7 separate regions of the Homo sapiens genome follow, and all the other regions are linked to region 6. Evidence: promoter capture Hi-C in 16 types of primary human blood cells and fetal thymus (Javierre and others, 2016). All regions are on one chromosome and are shown on one strand. Each heading gives the region's core, a stretch centred on a gene start or on the middle of the fragment in contact. The rest is flanking DNA. Distances are from core to core; before and after follow the strand shown. Region 1 has its middle 38 kb from the start of LINC02865. Region 2 overlaps WAKMAR2 (wound and keratinocyte migration associated lncRNA 2). Region 3 has its middle 14 kb from the start of LINC02865. Region 4 overlaps LINC02865 (long intergenic non-protein coding RNA 2865). Region 5 overlaps WAKMAR2 (wound and keratinocyte migration associated lncRNA 2). Region 6 holds the start of IFNGR1 (interferon gamma receptor 1). Region 7 overlaps TNFAIP3 (TNF alpha induced protein 3).

Region 1 (2,700 bases), core at 94-2,593, 690 kb after region 6:
CTGATGTGATGGACAAAATACACATTATGTGTAAATGTCCCATGCAAAATGTGAGAAAGTTTAGATGATGTACAGCAGTTATTTTTAGTCCTTCGAATAAAACATACTCCTCACATACATACTCCTCACATTCGAGAGCAATATTATAAATAATGCAGCATTCATTTAATATAACCTCAGTATGTTTCATTTCAAAAGACCAACTGTAATTTCTATTTCTGTTTATTTTTAAAGAACTCTTCACTACTGTAATATTATATTTTAATAATAATAACAATGACCTGTATATATTACATACTTAATATATGACAGTCCATAAGCTAGGGTTTATAAAAATATATATGATCAAATTTCATCCTAACAATACATTATGTGTTAAGTATTATCCCCATTTGACAAACAAGAAAACTGGGTCTCAGAAATGTGCACAGTCATGTTTAAAAATCCTAACTCTCTATCTCAAAAACCCATCCTATGGTGTCTCTAAGAGAAATGTGTAGACTGCTCAAACTGGTTCTAATAAAGTTTTCCCTCATTTTGAATGTTTCTGTTCAGTAACGAAAAACTGTAAATAAATAATACAAAAAGCATATTTATAACCTAAGTATAAGGCCTAAGAATAATAATAAAATGGATACTTGCATACCCACCACTGAGCTTAAGAAATCAGACATTAGCAACACCTTTGAAGCCTTGTGTACCTTTCTCCCAATCTATTCATCTTCCCCAATCCAGAGACATGGTTTAGTGCATGTGAGTGAGCCACCTCCCCAGTTAGAAAGTAGGCTTCTTGAGAAAAAAACTGGGTTTATTATTTCTTCATTTTTCTTTTTAGTTTTACCACATAGGCATTTATCCCTAAACACTGTACTATTTGATTTTGCTTGGCTTTGAACTTTATATAATTATTCTTTTGTAACTTGCTCTTTTAATTCAGTACCACCTACGTTGATGACTATAGTGTATAGTTCTTAATCTTCACTGCTATACAGTAGTCAACTGTATGACTATACCACACTTATTTACCTATTATCTCATTTGCCTGGATCTGTGTCGCTTCAGGTTTTTGCTGTTACAAATCAAATAGATATTCTTGTCCAAGTCTCCTGGTACACACATGCTAAAATTTCTTTTGGGTATATATCCAGGAATAAAATGCAGATTGAAGGGTGTGTGAAGTTCAGTCTTACATAACCGTGTCAATTACTTTTTTTATATTTTGAAAAAAAATTTTCCCATCGTTTTTCTACTGTTCTGTTTGCTGCTCATTTTCTTACTAATTTGTGGGCTGCCTTTATATATTTTTATTACTCTTTTTGTTGGCATACATGTTGCAAATATCTTCTCCAAATTTTCAGCTGACTTCTCAGAGAAAGTCTTAAGTTTAAACATTGTCAAATTTTAATTTTTTTCCTTTATGAGTAAAAACCTTATTTAAGAAATCTTTTTATTTCCAGAGGTGTTATTCATCTGAAATGTTTTGTTTTGGTTTACATATTTAAATGTTTAATGTCTCTGAAATTGATTTAGGGATATGGTAAGAATAGGCAGGAATCTGATTTTATTTTTTCCATGAATTCAGGGGAGCCACAGTCTGAAACCAGACCACGTGGGCTCTATAGTTAAAATATTACAATCTTCTCCATAACATTCTTGCTCCTCTCTTGAAAAAGGTTTTTCTATGTATCTTATGTTTTTAACTGCTTTTGTGACTATTGTCTTTTTTTTTTCAATTTGGTTTCCTTTTCTAACTTGTTTGCTTTTGTGACTGCTGCCTTTAAAAAATATATTTTTTGGTTTCTTTTTCTTTCCTTTTTTTTTTTAAAGAGATAGGGTCTCGCCATATTGATCAGGTCAAACCTCTGAACTCAAGCCATCCTTCTGCCTCAGCCTCCCAAGTAGCTGAGATTATAGGCTGGTTTCTTTTTTTAACTTGTTTGCTGTTATATAAAAATGCAATTGACTTTTATATAAATATTTGTGTTTTAATATCTATGGATTCTTTTGGGTTCTTCATAAACACAATTATATCATCTGATGGGTGACTGTCAAGATGTGTGTGTGTGTGTGTGTGTGTGTGTTGAAAGATACATTAAAGACCCAAACAGTGTTCATTATTGTTATTTTACCACTTAAAAATCAATTTTATTTTATATATTTATTTCATTTCTCTGTCAATATATATAAATTTTGATCTGTTTTCTCATTTAAGTAATATTTATTTGTTCAGAAAACTTAGAGAATAGACATAAGAAAATCAAAATGCCCATAATCCCATCACACAATTAATTAGAATTCAATAACATAGTTTTAAATTACTTACCATGTGATCTAAATGCACTACTTATTTCCTATTTTCAAAGATTTTGCTTTCTGGTGAATAACTACTGTAAATGTTTTGATATTATACTCATTTAGGCTTTTTAAAATAATAAATACATATTTTTAACACAAACAGGTCATATTGTACATGCAGTTATGCAACCTAATATTTTTCACAAACGATATATGTAACCATTTCTTTGACATTACTGAAAATTCTTCTGCCACATTATTTTTGATGAATGCATTGTATATTTCATTGTATGTATTATAATTAATTAGTTTTATTGCATATGTGCTGCATTCAATATTTTGCTATTATAAATAGTTATGACTTTCTATCATCCTATGATGATTCCCTCAGAATAAGTTTCTGGA
Region 2 (2,820 bases), core at 249-2,748, 640 kb after region 6:
ATTCCAGCACTTCAGGAGGCCGAGGAAAGAGGATTACTTGAGGCCAGGAGCTCAAGACCAGCTTGGGCAACAAAGCAAGACCCCAACTCTATAATAAATTATAAATTAGCTGAGTGTGGTGGCGCAAGCCTGTAGTCCCAGCTACTCAGGAGGCTGAAGCAGAAGGGTCGGTGAAGGCCACAGTGTGCCATGATCACACCACCATACTCCAGCCTGGGTGACAGAGTGAGACCTTGTCTCTAAAAAAATAATAAAACTTTTAAGAATTTGAAAATTAAAAAAAACAGGTATCAGCTCAGACAAACAGAAGCTTTAAGGCTTAGAGTAAATGATCATTAGTTTAGAAGGTTATTAATGTTCTGTTGTGAATTTTTTATTTAAATTATCCAATTTAGCACTAGAAAGACACTTTGAAAATAGCAGCATCCAGAGTTCCGCATTGTTCGTTCAGTTATCACAAAGTAAACAGCTGTAGCAAGGGAATAAGACATAGCAGGCTGTGCAGTTCTGAACAATTATTGCTAAAATGCCTAAGGCCAAGAATTTTTCAGCCACCCAAGAAGTATAATAATTTTCTCGAAGTTCAAAGCCAGAGATGTATATATGAATTAAGTTCTTACATAAAAAATCTTTTGCAAAAATCTCAAATCCCATACTTGCTCAAGTTAGGATGTTTGACACCATTGAGAACCAACCAAACAATGACTGTTTGGTTCAACCAGAGAACCTAAGAACCAACCATGAAAGCCTCAAGAATCAAGGCATTTCTTACAGGTTTATTTCACACCTGAATTGTAACAAGTTGAGTGTTCCCAGAGGTACTTCTTAAGGTATCATAAAAGTAACTTATTTCAAGAGAAAATTACATTTCATTGTAGAGATGAAGTATAATGCTTCTCTAGTTGTTTTCTGCAGAGAGCTGAACATGTCTCAAGATAGATTTGGTAGATTTATTTCAAATATGAAAAATTCAGGAACCCCTCCCCAACCCTCTCCTACTCCCTGGAAAGCATATACTAAAAATATGGCAATTCCAACTTTTTCTCCTGAATGCCTAAATGCTCTCTAATAAAAACTAGAAATCAACAAGGCTAAATTCTAGGGATTTTATGAGAACAGAACCAGTTAAGAAAAATTAAAACATTTTTCCCATTAATATAAAACAAAAGATGAACACTTTTGCATGTAAGTTCATTTACAAATAAATTTTTAAAAATTAAAGTGCATGAAAAAACATTTTAAAACTTCCAGACATTAATATGGGAAAACAGCCAACTTGCTGTAAACAAAAGAATAATAAATATTCTAAACAAAAATAAAATTCTAAGCCCCCGAACCACTGAATGGACCCCCAACTCTCAGCCGAGGGGATTTCAAAGAAACCTAAAATACTAGTTCAGGCCATGATGGGAAGGGAGGGTCGGACATGCTTCATTATACTCTCCTCTCTTTGGAATTCAGGCACAACTGACCAGCATTAACATTAAAACAGAGATCTTAAGACTGACAAAACAGACTTTTTGTAGCAATAAGATAGCAATGTGACAGGAGGCCCTGAAAGAAATCCAAGTATTTTACTTCAAAATATATTTATTTGATACATTTTGAAATGACCTGGCAAAGCTGTCTGTTGTGAGGAAACTCTCCATTCCGTAGATAATTCTCTCTCCTTTCCAGGTCTTTTCCTGATCCAGGAGATATTCAACTGAGTCTGGCACCGTTTAAGGTCTGATAGGAGATATTTACCACCTATTACTCTTTCTGAAGGCTGCTACCAGAAGGCTTCATCTTCATAACAAGAACCTTGGCCTCCACAACCCTCCTTATCTTAACCCTAAGCATTTCTGTCTTAACTCCTTAGAAAGAAACTTAACTGTTTCAACCAACTGCCAATCAGAACACCTTTGAATTCAACTATCAGCTGTAAGCCCAACACCCTCCTTGAAGTTGTCCTACCTTTCTGGACCAAATGAACATATACGTTACATACACTGATTGATGTCTGCCTATAAATTCTGTCCCCCTAAACTGTGTAAAATCAAGCTGTAACCCAACCACTGTGTTTGGATACATGTTCTCAGGACCTCCTGAGGCTATGTCATGGGTCATGGTCCTCACATTTGGCTCAGAATAAATGTCTTTAAATATTTTACAGAGATTGGCTTTTTTTTCTTTTTTCTTTTTTTTTTTTTTTTTGTTTGTCAACAGCATAGAAACATCCATACTAAACATACCTGGCAGAAGGTCAGTGCATCTCTCCCTTGCTGATGGTTATTCATTCAAACATGAAAGGAGAAAATAACTGGTTTAGTCTTTCTCAGGAACACACACTCTTTTTTTAGAGTCAGACTATTTTCTTCTTCAATGAGTTAAGTTTTACTAGAGACACTTAGTAGTATATTTGGAAACTTAAAATGTAATAGTAGTACCTCTTCTTTTCTGATCTTCTGTTTATTCCCTTACCTACCTAAAAAGATCAATCACTTACTAGGATTAACCCAACACTTAGGCTCAATCAACTGCATGAACGTGTTTGGACTCTCAAAATACTATATTTCCTCAATTTTACAACATACTTTTTTTAAACATTTAAAAATTTCTAATATAATCATTAGTTTAAATTTTTACGTAAAAAGCCTCAAATGCCAGGGAGTGAAGAGAGGTGGTTCTCATTGCCTGTGCATTTGCAAGCTTAGAAATGTCTAAAGGAAAGGTATCTTTTCATTCTTCCTCCCAATCCTTTCATTCATCTAACAAACTGTTGTTCACTGAGTGCCTGTTTTGTATCACGTACATTTCTGGGCACAGGGAGTACAGAGT
Region 3 (2,835 bases), core at 120-2,619, 710 kb after region 6:
AATGTGCCACTCTCTCTGCCTGGGAGGATAAATGCATATATTCACAAAGCAGTATGTTAAAGAATGTTTATAACAGTTTTACACACAATTGCCAAAAACTGAAACCCACCCAAATGTCTGTCAACAGTAGAACAAATAAATCTTGGTATAGTTATACAATGGAATACTATACAATGATGACAAAGAACAAACTATTGCTTTTTTTTTTTTTTTGAGATGGAGTTTCGCTCTTGTTGCCCAGGCTGGAGTGCAGTGGCGCAATCTCAGCTCACTGCAACCTCCATCTCCTCAGTTCAAGCGATCCCAAAGTGCTGTGATTATAGGCGTGAGCCACCATGCCCAGCATTTTTTTTTTTTTTTTTTTGAGATGGAGTCTCACTCTGTCGCCCGGGCTGGAGTGCAGTGGCACAATCTTGGCTCACTGCCACCTCCACCTCCTGGGTTCAAGTGATTCTCCTGCCTCAGCCTCCTGAGTAGCTGGGATTACAGGCACCCGCCACTACACCCATCTAATTTTTTGCATTTTTAGTAGAGATTGGGTTTCACCATGTTGGCCAGGCTGGTCTTGAACTCCTGACCTCATGATTCGCCCTCCTCGGCCTCCGAAAGTGCTGGGATTACAGGTATGAGCCACCATGCCCGGCCAAACTATGGCTATCTACAAAAGTGATATATTTCACAAACATAATGTTATACAAAGAGTACTTACAAAACGATTCCATTTATATAAAGTCTAAAGACCAGTCAAAAATTAACATATGGTGATCCAAATTAGAATATTGGCTACCTTAGGGTGGTTATTGACTGAAAGGAGGCATGAGAGAGAGGCTTCTGGGGTGCTGGCAGTGTTAATCTGGGAGGTAAATAGGGCATGTTTATTTTAAAATCCAACAAACTCTATACTAAAAAGTACGTTATACCTCAAAAGAAATTTAGAAAACTTGTGAAGTATGAGAAATGGTCAGAAGAGATGGTAAAGGAATACAGAAAAATCTATCGTAATGTTGTCAGATGTAATTATTACCACTATATGATTATAGACGTCTCTGATTGGACAGAATAATGTAATAGCATTTTTGTTAGCAAAATTAATGCCACAATTGAATGCTATAACAGAAGTTCACACTAACAAGAGATAAGTCTGTTGCCCTCATAAGGGTTCTTCACTGAACAATATGAAGGACTTAAAGGAGTTGGCAAAATCTTTAGGCTCTGAAGCTGCCAGAAGATTCTGAGGGTAGGCAGATGAGTAGAAAAAAGCTCCAAGGAGACAAGAGAGGGGACCAGATAAGGAGGAGATTCAGTGATTCCACTCAAGCTACTCTTATTGCAGGTGGACTCTGTATGGATTGATGACCGATTTCATGGGAAAAAAAAGGAAGTAGCTTGCCAAAAGTCTCTGGACTCTGTGACCGTGCCTGATTGACCAAAAGTAAGACTATCTTTTTGATAATTGACAGATCAACACACCCTCCTAGATGTTACAGACACAGATCCCATTAACTGAATAAATAAATGAAGAAAATATGCAGAAAGGAAACTGTTAACCTTGGAAGGGAAAGGAGCAGTCTCCATCCACTCTTCTTTCACTTACATCTTTATATTTGTATTCAATCACTTTGTTATTTTTACTTATTTATGTTTATACCGGCTGTTTCCTCTGCCTGGAACCTTATTCGCCTGTGCATCCTCATAGCTACTCCCTATTTCCTTCAAGTCTTAGCTCAGATTTCACTTTCTCAGTCCAGACCTATACAGACTCCCTATCTGAAGTTGCTGCCCACACACTCATATCAATATTACAGGTTTTCCCTGGCCTGCTGTGTTTTTTCCATCGTACGTATCACTTCCTTATACTCTATGCACTGTACTTATTTATTATGGCTATTGTCTGTCTGTCCCGCAATAAATGTGAACTCCACAGGAGCAGAGATTTATTTTACAGATGTAAGTCTGTATCCCTGGCACAAAGTAGGCGTGCAGTAAATATTTGTTTCATGAATAAGTGAATGAAGATGGTAGTCACCATCCTTTCTGGCACTAATATTTAGAATTACTGTGGCCCACAGAGTCTTTCCAAAAAGATTGCAATAATTTGTACTCCCAACTACCAATATATGAGCCTGCTTATTTTCCCATATTCTTATTAGTATTACATATTATCAGTCTTTTTCATTGTGCACTATTTGTTGGGTGCAAATGTACCTCATTGTTTTTTAAATTTCATATGTTTATTAATCATTTGCATGTTCACTTCTAGGAATTGCCTGTTTATGTCATTTGGCCACTTTTATTTTGGATTGTCTTTTGTTTATCTTGAGGGGCTGTTTTATAAATTGCCAATACTTTGTCTATCAGATGTAGTCTAAATACTTTGTTCCACTGTCTTTTAAACATGTGACTTGAAGCATTTAGACATGTTTCTGTTCAAAGAAATGTAAGAATATGAATTTTCCCTTTTATTATTCAGAAGACATAAAAGGTGTTTCTTTATGATGCTTTTTTGCAGTAAAGGACTATTTTCAAGGGTTAAGGCTCCTAATCAAATTGCAGCTGTACTTAGTAGCAAGTTGTGTACAAAATCCTACCTTTCAGGAACAAGGAAAAAGAAAGATAATTGCTAGGCTAGGTTTAAATAATTTGACTTATAGCAGAATTCTTTATAAGTCAGTGATAAGTAACAAAGTTTATTTTTCTTTTTCTTTGGTTTTAGTAAAACAAAAAACCCAATTGGTCCCCAGGGTAATCAAGCCATGATTCTGTGAGCAAAGAATAATGATTTCATAAAATAATATATTCCATTTATATAACAATTTATAGTTTTCCAAGTACTTT
Region 4 (2,837 bases), core at 199-2,698, 730 kb after region 6:
AGGCAGAGGTTGCAGTGAACTGAGATCTCTGCACTCTAGCCTGGGCAACTTCATCTCAAACAAAAAAAAAAAAAAAAGGAAAGAAAAAGAAAAGAAACTGGAGTAGATTTGGAGGGAAGAGAGAGGAAACCTATAAGGAGGTTGCAGTTAGAGAAAAGAACATTTATAACTAAGATCCTAAAGGAAAAATAATCCCCTGGGATCTGCAACTCTTAGATCACCTCAAAATATAAAATATTAAAAATGAGAATGTCATGTCACCTCTAAAGTTCAGTGACATTTGGTGAAAAGAATAGCAGCCAAAACTTTTTAGTCTGGTCACTAGACATAGCTCTGCCAACAACCAGGTAAGAGATTTTAGGCAAGTTCCTCTCTAATCTCTGGGGCTCAGTTTCCTCCTTTGTACTAGAAAGGGGCTTGACTAGTTAACTTCTGAGGGCTTTTATACTTGAATTACTACATCGGTTTATTAGGCTGCCTAGCTGTGTACATCACCAGTCTGCAAACATATTCTTCTTTAAGCACGAGTTTCTTCATGTTACTTCCCGACCCCAAAACACTTTTTGACGCTTTCTCTTGCCTTTGTGCTGCCATCCCCCAAATAGCTGTGACAATCTTGATATTAGAAATAGCCATCTTGTGGGGAAAAACCTCAAGCTTCCCATTTGTTTTCTAGTATTAACTATCAGAAGAATTTACTGGTAATCCACTTAAAGAGATGAAGCCTTATTAAAACCAAAAACAAGTGGCTCATGGGAAAGCTTTTGTGCACTTGAGCATAACTCCTCATTTGTGTCAGCCAAAGGTTGTCCTGACTTATATTGTCATGCATTTTAACCAAATTAAGGTATCACATCATCATTACAAGTTTCACAATTTGTATCCTGGAGTTGTCTTGTTCTTTTTTCTTTTACCAAAAAATCTGAGTTTAAGGAAAAACTTTAACCTGAAAAGTGAGCGGACTCACTTAGCACAATGTCAGCTGACCTACTTGTTTCAGTTTAAATGAAACTAACTTTTGCTCTTAATTCTCCCTTCTTCTTTCCTCTCCCCTACTCTCACCTACTTCCTGGAAAATGTCATTCAGGTCAGAGTTCTTAGATGCAATGTGAGATGGTTTCTGTCTTCCCAACCAGGTGATTTAGCACCTGGGCCTGCATGTTGCTATAGCTGCAATGTTTAGACATGGGTTTGCAAGTGAGTAGAGTCTAAAAACAGAGTTTTGTTGATAATGCATATGCCACAGAATTCTTGAATTGCTTAGTTACCATTGAGCTTGGTTATAAGTAGAAACCACTTATTTAAAAAAGAAAAAAAAAAACCACCATTTGCAAATGAGATCTACTGAAAGGCAAATAAAGCCTTGTTTAAAAGTGTGGCTATTATCAGTAATAGCAATTATGATGATTTATGCTGCTTGGTACATTTCCACATAGGCTTTATATGCATTTTTAATAATAATTCTCAAAACCATGGAGGAGGGGGACAGGCATTCATTCATTCACTCGTTCATTCAATCAACTGTCCTAGCTTGTGAGAAGGACAAACGGCCAGACCGCTTTTTGAGACAATGAACAGGTAGTTAGAGAAAAGGTCGGGTATTTGCAGGGCTGATTGCATCCTGGGACTCAGAAGGTCCAGAAGTGATACACCAGGAGCTCAAGAATTGCAACCATAATTTATGCAAATGATTCACACTAGAGTTAATAGTACAAGTTACAGAAACCCGACAGCTGGACAGGAAGAGGCTATTTTAGATTCAAGCCAACAGGTGGGCATCACCTGGGATTCATCATTGCAATCTTGCTAGAGCAGCATATTCCCACCTTGTCAAGAAGAAGGACCCACGTTTAACATCAAAATGTCTTGGGGACTCCCCACACGCTAATTGTCATCTTCTTTATATCTGTTAATTGAGAAATATATAACAATAAAAATCTGTTCATTAAAAATATATAACGATAAAAATCAACTAGGAATCAGCAGAGATTTAACATGAATTTATATTTCACTAATTCTACCAGTGCTATGCCAGTTTTCAATTTATTACCTCTTTGTTCCAGATTTCTTCAGCAGCTGCTCTACAAATATGCAATGGACCCTTTAAGCATTTCTCCTTTACAGTGAGCACAATGCTAAGCTTTGTCAGCAGATGCCACTGGAGCAGCATTGCAGAAGAAAGCGAGTTTCTCTTCCTGATTTTGGTGTGCTACTTTTCTTCTTCTTGCTCCAGCTGCATTATCCATCAGTGGTACTATGTATAAGACCATCCCGCTGTGCCCTGCCCTACCACCTGCCCAGAGGCACATCCCTCACTGACTATTTGGCCTGATTCTGAGCCTGTGGCCACCTTCTCACAGCCCTGCAACACAGGCACTGTGTGCTCCAGGCCTCACGTCCCCAGCAGTGGCCTGACTGTGCACTTAGCCACAGCCTCAGTTTGCCTGTGCTCCAAGAAATTGCATCCTATTTGCCCAGCAGCTATGGACCAGCTCCTGGTCCTGGAAAACAGCAGGCTTCTCTGACATCTAGTGGACTGCAAACACACCTTCTCCAACAAGGCCTGACCCCAGCCTTAAGGAGAGAACCGTCTTTCCGAGTTGTCTTTCCTTGGGTACTCTCCCTCAATCCTCGGATACCCTTGAAAGTTCTCTTTACATTGTTATAGTTATTCTTCTATCACTGTCGAATAATTTTTTATATTAAACTTCTCTTGCTTTACATTACTATGTGGTTTCTGTCTCTTGCTTGAACTCAGACTGATAGAAGTTCATTTGGAAAAACAGCAACACTTATGTGTACGAGATATTCAATCTACAGATAACATTTGGTATAAG
Region 5 (2,907 bases), core at 78-2,577, 610 kb after region 6:
ATGAGAGGTAAATGATGTGATCATTTTTTTGTGACTGCCTTAAGCAACTCCACCCAGATGGCCTGGCTGTTTGTTTGGTGAAGATTTCTCTCTCCTCTTCTGCCCCCTCTTTCTGACCCATTAGTCAGAAAATAACTGGGCTTTGCAAATGTAGGTTGTGTAAGTTGTCAGGTTCACCAGCCTCCAAATGGCCTGTCCCAAATCCTCTTAACCAGTATTTCCGGAATGAAGTTAAGATCATGCAGGCCATTAGCCAAGGAGTTTAGCTAGAGAGGGTGGGGTGAAGCACAACCCATGCTTTGAAGTATCTGAAACACTCACCAGCCAATGACAATTACTTGTCTCCACTAGGCTGAAGAACATATTTCAGTTGTTCCTATCTCCACTGAAAAACTTGCCTCCTATATATGACATGACTCATAGTCATTAAGTCCAACGTGGAACGCAAAGAGGTTACTGTTTTCCTAACCATTGTATTCGAAGTCTCAGTCAGCTCAACCAACTGCTCCAAGTTGCAGAACATGGCTGAGGTAAACATGGAATTGTGCTGAGAGTTTTGTCTTAAACTCATGCCATCCATCTTCAGTTGGACCCTCGATTCTCTCTTATAATCATTTTTCTTTTCCTTACTAAACTTGATACTCTATGCCCCACAATAGTGTTTCAGAACTTCCTTCCAAAGTTTCAGTTTTCACATCTTTAAAATAAAGATAATCATAGCATCTACTTAGTAAGGCTGTTCTCAGTATTAAATCAAAGGATAGGCGTAAAGTTCAAAACATATGACATAAGTACCTAATACATGCTGTTACTATTATTATATATGTTATTATCTATGCTAATATTATATGACATGAATAATGAAATAACAAAATAATATTTTCTACTCATCTCAAAGTTACGAAACTTTTTTAGTGTCAGCTATATGCTAGTTATCCTGTTAACATGACACTTTGATATACAGCCCCTAAGATCCCAACTCCCTTCCACTCTCTTTCCCTCATCTTATTGGCCTTCTTTCTTACTAAGATCAAGGCAAGTCCATGGAAGCCCCTCAATATTCCCCTGCATCTCAGAATTTCTCCATGTCATCAAAGTTCCTGTTTTTCTTTCCTCTTCTCTCTGAAGGCCATCTCTGCTCCACTCCACAACCCTGGCCCTTCTCACACTAAGTATGGTGCCCCAGGGAGGATTTCCCCTTCAGCCCCACCTAAGAGATCTCAGCATGCAGCCCACAAGGTTTAAAATTGAGTCTTTACTCTTGAAAAGATTAAAACAGAGTTGAGGTGCCAAAAAAAAAAAAAAGAAAAGAAAACCTACAAGATAGCTCATAACAAGTGCCAACTGAGTCATTCAGAAAAAAAAAAAAAAAGAGAAATGCCACTACCTTCAGCAAAAGGGAACCATTGAACTATCATTGAAAAAATACTGTTCCCCAGAGGGAAAAAATTAACTCCAAAAACTTTGTCATCATATTATTAATATTTTAATATCTCATCATTTTTATAAGGCAGTTTCACAAAGTTATTTCCTTTAAGCCACTTAGAGAGGTAGATTAAGGAATATTCTGCCCATTTTACAAATGAAGAAACTGAGATGCAGAGAAGGTTTAGGAGAATTCCCAACCTGGGCAGCTAGTAAGTGCTAGAGCCAGGACTTCAATGTGGGTCTTGGGAGCCCCTTCCCCCTGCCCTTTCTTGTAGGCCATATTGACTTTCTACTGGAGGACATTACCATTTGTTCATTTACCATGATGCTGGAAACTTAGCATTATGTTTTCACATCTGCCCATTACAACTCTAGGTGGTCAGTCTAATTACCTGCATTTTAGATGTAAGGATGACTTTGTGAGGAGGGGGAGCAGAGGGAGGGAGTCTGTTAAGTAAGTAGCCCAAATCCCACTGCTAAAAAGCTCTAAAGTTGGCATATAAATTCAGGGCTCATGAACCTGAATTTTATTTTTTATTTGCAAGAAATTGTATTTCCTACAAATTAAGCATTTTTTTGCCTGTGAGAGCAAAAGATAACACCAAAAAAAAAAAAAAATGAAAGCAAAGTCTAAAACAGGTGGTAGTGACAGCAGAAAAAAAAAATATATATATACACTCATGGTTAGGCAACTTGTCAGCCAAGCCTGGGCCATAAAACACGATAAAAAAAGGTTTGGTTAATAGCCAGAATTACTCAGTTATTCTCATAAATGCTAATTATTAAGTTATTTATGAAAGGAAAAGGATTTTCATTTGATTGTCCCCTGGCTTTTATTGCTCTCTGTGATAACATAAATTCCCCTTCCAGGACCCCTTCAATGATTAAGGTGCATAGCTGTGATCTATAAGCATATTCAGACCTATCACCCATATAGATCAGCTCTGACAAAACGATTTGATGGCTTATGTTTTTTTCAGATAAATTCTATTCTTTGTATTTCATTAGAATGTAGATACCTATAAAAAGTACCTTAAGTAATATGAATCTTGAGATGTTAGAAACATTTCTTCAGAAAAAAAAATACCCACCAAGGAAGTTATAAACCAACTTAAAGAATAGGTGTTCAACAAAATAAATAAACCCAAAAATACTTAATATAATGCAGGAAAGTTTATGGTAGGGACTTGATATGGCAATCTCTTTGGAATTTTAAGTATAAAATGTTTCAGTGGGTTGATTCTCAAAATTCTAAAGCATGACAATAATTTTTTACCAGGTACAATGTGCTTTTAGGAGGATTTCTTCCTTTTCTCCCCCGTTTTTATGTTCAGTCTGACCTGGTTGATGACTGTGACTCAGATGATAGACGGACTACTTGTGGTTTGAAGGGTGTTGCTTCAGAATTCTAATCTCTTTTGTCATGGACCATCCCTGGGGATTCCAAAGTATTACTAGCTGTAAAGGAACTCCCCCTCC
Region 6 (2,794 bases), core at 198-2,697:
CACCTTTGTGAAGTCTTCACTGACTTCCCTAAAAGAGACAAGCACCCCGCCTTGCTTTCCACTAGTCTGTGCCTAAGTGCAAGCTCTTACCGCAAAGTACTGCAACTGCCCATGTGGATGACTGACTAGAGCCTAGAAGAGCAGTTAAGAACTTGGACTCTGGAGCCAAATTGAGCAGCTCCCCACTGAGTGGCTATGACCTCTCTGCCAGTTGGGCAGGCCTCTCCGTAACTCAATTTCTCGTCCATAAAGAGAGAGACAAATAACGCCTACTCCAGAAGATTGTTGTGAACACAGAACCAAAACGTGGACCTTTCAAAGTCCCTATGAATCATAAATCATAATAAAAAAAAGAAAACTGAATTGAAAAGGTTTACTGTTTTCTCTGGAGCTCGTAATCACAATTACTCTGCACTTCAGAAAAGCCACCCTCAACATTTGTTTTCTAGGAAATGTCAATAAGCAGGTGGAAATAAAATGCTCCGAAGAACAAACCCGTACGAAGAGACCTACTGCCAAATCTGCTAGTGAGTGCCGGCAATCCACCACTTCCAGACTGAGACCTAAGACGGACTGCCACTTACTTCTCAGCTGCCACTTACTTCTCAGCTGGCGACATAATGCATACTTTCCTACCCTAAGCACTTTGAGTCCCCCCCCCCACCCCCGCTAAGAAAGAAGTATTTAAGCCACGAACTGAGACCACGATGCCACATGCTGATCAGGACACTCACAGTCATGCGTCACTTAACGATGGAGATCCGTTCTGAGAAATGGAGAAATGTCCCCTTAGGCAATTTCTTCGGGCAGTAGAAACCCAGACAAACCCAGATGACACAGCCTACTGCTCTTAGGTCATGAACCTGTACAGCCTGTCACTGCACTGAACACTGCAGGCAACCGTAGCATACTAGTGAGTATCTGCGTATCTAACCATAAAAAAAGGTACAGTAAGAAGACGATATTATAATCTTTGAGACCACGCTGTCCCACATTGACCAGCAACGTCCTTCTGCAGCGCATAATCGTATTTAAAAGTGGATTACAAGAGTCGGAAAAACAAGCGGCGTGATTTGTTGTGGCGGCAACCAGGGAAGAGGCAGGAGAAAGGCAACCGACGAGTTCAAACCACGGAGCCCCAGTCTCGCGACCCCACCTCGCGTCCCCGTCGCCCGCTCAGGGCCCGACGCAGGGGTCCCGGGCTAGGGCGACCTCGGAGAAGCGGGGCGGGGCTTCCCGGCTGGGGCGGATCCCTCCCTCCCTCTCGTCCCGACCCGGCCGCAGCCCTGCCGCGAACGACGGTACCTGAGGACGGCCCCAGATCCGCGGTGCCCATCTCAGCCCTGCTCACACCCTGCATGACAAGGGGTAGGAGAAAGAGGAGAGCCATGCTGCTACCGACGGTCGCTGGCTCCAACCCCGAGCGCCTGCGGGACCAGCCCAGCACTGCCCTCCAGCCCCGGCCTTACGTCACTTCCGTCACCGGGGTCTGTGCCGGCGTCGGCAGGAGGCGGGACCAGGGCGTGGGCGGGGTCAAGTCCGGGAAGCCGCAGGAGGCGGACTCAGGCGCAGCACCCAGCAGTGAGCACGGCGTCGTGCGGTCGGGACCTGGACTTCTGGGTGTGGGAGGAATTTGAGTGCAAAGGTTAAGGTCTTTCAACCTGGCACCCCATTCTGCAATTCTTCTTCCAGTTTTTTTCGGTTTCCTGGGGTTGTGCAAGTTTGCATTAGGCCACAGCCGAGCCACAATCCTTATTTTACTAACTCTTGGACTTCACCTGGTTGTCTTGGAGCCTGACATTTTTAGAAGAGAATGAGACTTCAAAAGCCATTTCCAGTCCCTGCTTTTTCATTTGAGGAACCTGAGACTTAGCTAGTGAAATGGTTTGTGCAGATTCCCACAGCCCAAATCAAATCGGCTTGACCAAGAACTACTTTGTTCTTGGAGAAAAAAACTATTTGCATTACCTTCTCAGCAATTCAGTGTCAAATCAGTTTATCAGGCAGCCTCTCATGAAGAGGTCTGCTCTCTTACCTCTCTGGGTTTGTCTGTTATTTTGCATCTCTCCTATTCCACTGCAGCCACATTGCTAAGTCCTTCAGCGCTTGTGCTCAAACATGCGAATGTCTAATGATCTCACCTGTTTCAATTCTCTGAGTATCATGAACTTTTGTTAAAAATTTTAAATTGCAACACACCTTCTCCTCCTCCTTACCCCGCCCTACTGTTTTTTCATGGCACTTTTCACCTTGCTGTACACTATAATATACACCTTGATATTTGTTTTCTTCTCCTTCTAAAATGTAAGCTCCGTAGAGCTGACATCTTTACTTGGCACTCAATTAGTATTTGTTGAGTGAAAGACTGCATGATTACTAGTGTTAAGGAAAATTTTTAAAGAGGGAAAATCCTTATAAAGACACTATATAAACTAGAGGTATTATCAGCCAGATCATTTTACTTGTATTAATAAATCTCTTAGCTCAGTACTTCTCAAACTTCAACATACATGTGAACCATCTGGGGATCTTGATAAAATGCAGATTTGGATTCAGTAGTTCTAATTCAGGTTGGGTCTTGAGATTTTGTATTTCGGACAAAATGCACAGGGGATGCTGGTGCCCCTTTCAACAGGACCACACTTTGAATCAGAAGAATTTAGCTCAATCTAGACTAAGTTTAGGGAGAATATTTCCTTTGATGTGTTTCTGATGTCCACTATATGAAAGACACCTTCTAGTCGTTGTAAGGATGCAAGGATAAATAACTGATCTTTACCGTTTAGGCGTCTAT
Region 7 (2,905 bases), core at 96-2,595, 660 kb after region 6:
CCCCCGAAGACCCCCCCAAGCAGCGTTGCCGGGCCCCCGCCTGTGATCATTTTGGCAATGCCAAGTGCAACGGCTACTGCAACGAATGCTTTCAGTTCAAGCAGATGTATGGCTAACCGGAAACAGGTGGGTCACCTCCTGCAAGAAGTGGGGCCTCGAGCTGTCAGTCATCATGGTGCTATCCTCTGAACCCCTCAGCTGCCACTGCAACAGTGGGCTTAAGGGTGTCTGAGCAGGAGAGGAAAGATAAGCTCTTCGTGGTGCCCACGATGCTCAGGTTTGGTAACCCGGGAGTGTTCCCAGGTGGCCTTAGAAAGCAAAGCTTGTAACTGGCAAGGGATGATGTCAGATTCAGCCCAAGGTTCCTCCTCTCCTACCAAGCAGGAGGCCAGGAACTTCTTTGGACTTGGAAGGTGTGCGGGGACTGGCCGAGGCCCCTGCACCCTGCGCATCAGGACTGCTTCATCGTCTTGGCTGAGAAAGGGAAAAGACACACAAGTCGCGTGGGTTGGAGAAGCCAGAGCCATTCCACCTCCCCTCCCCCAGCATCTCTCAGAGATGTGAAGCCAGATCCTCATGGCAGCGAGGCCCTCTGCAAGAAGCTCAAGGAAGCTCAGGGAAAATGGACGTATTCAGAGAGTGTTTGTAGTTCATGGTTTTTCCCTACCTGCCCGGTTCCTTTCCTGAGGACCCGGCAGAAATGCAGAACCATCCATGGACTGTGATTCTGAGGCTGCTGAGACTGAACATGTTCACATTGACAGAAAAACAAGCTGCTCTTTATAATATGCACCTTTTAAAAAATTAGAATATTTTACTGGGAAGACGTGTAACTCTTTGGGTTATTACTGTCTTTACTTCTAAAGAAGTTAGCTTGAACTGAGGAGTAAAAGTGTGTACATATATAATATACCCTTACATTATGTATGAGGGATTTTTTTAAATTATATTGAAATGCTGCCCTAGAAGTACAATAGGAAGGCTAAATAATAATAACCTGTTTTCTGGTTGTTGTTGGGGCATGAGCTTGTGTATACACTGCTTGCATAAACTCAACCAGCTGCCTTTTTAAAGGGAGCTCTAGTCCTTTTTGTGTAATTCACTTTATTTATTTTATTACAAACTTCAAGATTATTTAAGTGAAGATATTTCTTCAGCTCTGGGGAAAATGCCACAGTGTTCTCCTGAGAGAACATCCTTGCTTTGAGTCAGGCTGTGGGCAAGTTCCTGACCACAGGGAGTAAATTGGCCTCTTTGATACACTTTTGCTTGCCTCCCCAGGAAAGAAGGAATTGCATCCAAGGTATACATACATATTCATCGATGTTTCGTGCTTCTCCTTATGAAACTCCAGCTATGTAATAAAAAACTATACTCTGTGTTCTGTTAATGCCTCTGAGTGTCCTACCTCCTTGGAGATGAGATAGGGAAGGAGCAGGGATGAGACTGGCAATGGTCACAGGGAAAGATGTGGCCTTTTGTGATGGTTTTATTTTCTGTTAACACTGTGTCCTGGGGGGGCTGGGAAGTCCCCTGCATCCCATGGTACCCTGGTATTGGGACAGCAAAAGCCAGTAACCATGAGTATGAGGAAATCTCTTTCTGTTGCTGGCTTACAGTTTCTCTGTGTGCTTTGTGGTTGCTGTCATATTTGCTCTAGAAGAAAAAAAAAAAAGGAGGGGAAATGCATTTTCCCCAGAGATAAAGGCTGCCATTTTGGGGGTCTGTACTTATGGCCTGAAAATATTTGTGATCCATAACTCTACACAGCCTTTACTCATACTATTAGGCACACTTTCCCCTTAGAGCCCCCTAAGTTTTTCCCAGACGAATCTTTATAATTTCTTTCCAAAGATACCAAATAAACTTCAGTGTTTTCATCTAATTCTCTTAAAGTTGATATCTTAATATTTTGTGTTGATCATTATTTCCATTCTTAATGTGAAAAAAAGTAATTATTTATACTTATTATAAAAAGTATTTGAAATTTGCACATTTAATTGTCCCTAATAGAAAGCCACCTATTCTTTGTTGGATTTCTTCAAGTTTTTCTAAATAAATGTAACTTTTCACAAGAGTCAACATTAAAAAATAAATTATTTAAGAACAGATTGTGATGTTTTCAATTGATGAATGCTGAAAGAAAAAGAAAGGCTTGGATATTAAGACTGTGCTTCCTAAGCAGCTTTATTTTGAGGTGCACCTGAGCAATGCACACATCTCTCATCCATGGTAGCAAGGCAGCTTTTCATAAATAATAACTGTATGAGGTCCAGGCCCAGTCCTCAAGCACAAGCCCCCGCTTGACAATGAAGACACTCTTCCTCTGATGGGAAGAGGAAAGGGATGCTAGGACCCTGTGGCCCTTTTAAGCTTCCTGCCCTAAACTTTTATAAAGTGAAGAAAGAGAAAACAAGAGGGAGGAGGAGGGAAAGACAGGAAAGAGAGAAGTAGGCAGGCAGGAAGGAAGACTGATGTAAGATCTCCTGGGTCAGACAAAGCAGAGGAGGCAGCGTGGCTGTGCTGGCTGCCAGAACCAGGAAATTAAAAAATAACACATTCCTCCATGCGCAAGCCTTCATCCCCACCTCCCATCCAGTACAAATGGACTCACAGACGACTGATTCAGCAGGACTGCGCAGCTCCCAGAATCTACTTTTTTAAGCTCCTCGGGTGATCTGGATGATCAGCCAGATTTTAGAATCACACTTTAAAAAATATATTTATAATTTTTTTTTAACTTTTTAAAAGTAGAAAACTTTAATAAGAAAGTGACAAGTACTATAAAGAGCCACTCTATAGCCATCCTCCAGTTTCAATAATTACCAACGTTCTGCCCAATTTGTTTCATCTATCACATCCTCTTTTTTGTTTTTCCTGGACTACTTGAAAGCAAATCCCAGAT

What was found. Contacts are between HindIII fragments. The CHiCAGO score rates a contact against its expected background, and 5 or more counts as called.
Region 1: a contact is called between a fragment that was not itself captured here and the fragment with the promoter of IFNGR1 in region 6, in 1 of 17 cell types (monocytes). The highest score is 5.8, in monocytes.
Region 2: a contact is called between a fragment that was not itself captured here and the fragment with the promoter of IFNGR1 in region 6, in 2 of 17 cell types (monocytes and fetal thymus). The highest score is 5.5, in monocytes.
Region 3: a contact is called between a fragment that was not itself captured here and the fragment with the promoter of IFNGR1 in region 6, in 3 of 17 cell types (monocytes, total B cells and M2 macrophages). The highest score is 8.9, in monocytes.
Region 4: a contact is called between a fragment that was not itself captured here and the fragment with the promoter of IFNGR1 in region 6, in 4 of 17 cell types (neutrophils, fetal thymus, monocytes and 1 more). The highest score is 7.2, in neutrophils.
Region 5: a contact is called between a fragment that was not itself captured here and the fragment with the promoter of IFNGR1 in region 6, in 1 of 17 cell types (monocytes). The highest score is 8.4, in monocytes.
Region 7: a fragment that was not itself captured here is called in contact with the fragment with the promoter of IFNGR1 in region 6 in 1 of 17 cell types (monocytes); the score reaches 6.9 in monocytes.

What each region holds. Positions count from the first base shown.
Region 1 is chr6:137,905,682-137,908,381 of GRCh38, forward strand. No RefSeq gene overlaps it. Among named protein-coding and RNA genes, the nearest start is that of LINC02865, 38 kb to the right of the region's middle. The HindIII fragment of the contact is 10,000 bases long and covers 1-2,700 here.
Region 2 is chr6:137,858,748-137,861,567 of GRCh38, forward strand. All of the region lies in intron 3 of WAKMAR2 (wound and keratinocyte migration associated lncRNA 2), which reads right to left. Among named protein-coding and RNA genes, the nearest start is that of TNFAIP3, 7.1 kb to the right of the region's middle. The HindIII fragment of the contact is 2,381 bases long and covers 309-2,689 here.
Region 3 is chr6:137,930,264-137,933,098 of GRCh38, forward strand. No RefSeq gene overlaps it. Among named protein-coding and RNA genes, the nearest start is that of LINC02865, 14 kb to the right of the region's middle. The HindIII fragment of the contact is 3,982 bases long and covers 1-2,835 here.
Region 4 is chr6:137,949,078-137,951,914 of GRCh38, forward strand. LINC02865 (long intergenic non-protein coding RNA 2865) reads left to right here. Exons shown (of 2, transcript NR_174953.1): 2 at 2,064-2,726. Among named protein-coding and RNA genes, the nearest start is that of SIMALR, 4.7 kb to the left of the region's middle. The HindIII fragment of the contact is 1,379 bases long and covers 760-2,138 here.
Region 5 is chr6:137,829,494-137,832,400 of GRCh38, forward strand. The region is part of intron 3 of WAKMAR2 (wound and keratinocyte migration associated lncRNA 2); the gene reads right to left. Among named protein-coding and RNA genes, the nearest start is that of TNFAIP3, 36 kb to the right of the region's middle. The HindIII fragment of the contact is 4,045 bases long and covers 1-2,907 here.
Region 6 is chr6:137,217,938-137,220,731 of GRCh38, forward strand. It overlaps IFNGR1 (interferon gamma receptor 1), which reads right to left and starts at 1,448. Exons shown (of 7, transcript NM_000416.3): 1 at 1,306-1,448. The coding sequence starts at 1,390. RefSeq lists silencers at 629-678, 1,139-1,358, 1,399-1,628 and enhancers at 1,088-1,818, 1,669-1,918. The HindIII fragment of the contact is 10,215 bases long and covers 1-2,794 here.
Region 7 is chr6:137,881,204-137,884,108 of GRCh38, forward strand. It overlaps TNFAIP3 (TNF alpha induced protein 3), which reads left to right. Exons shown (of 9, transcript NM_001270508.2): 9 at 1-2,109. The coding sequence ends at 116. Among named protein-coding and RNA genes, the nearest start is that of WAKMAR2, 14 kb to the left of the region's middle. The HindIII fragment of the contact is 2,051 bases long and covers 321-2,371 here.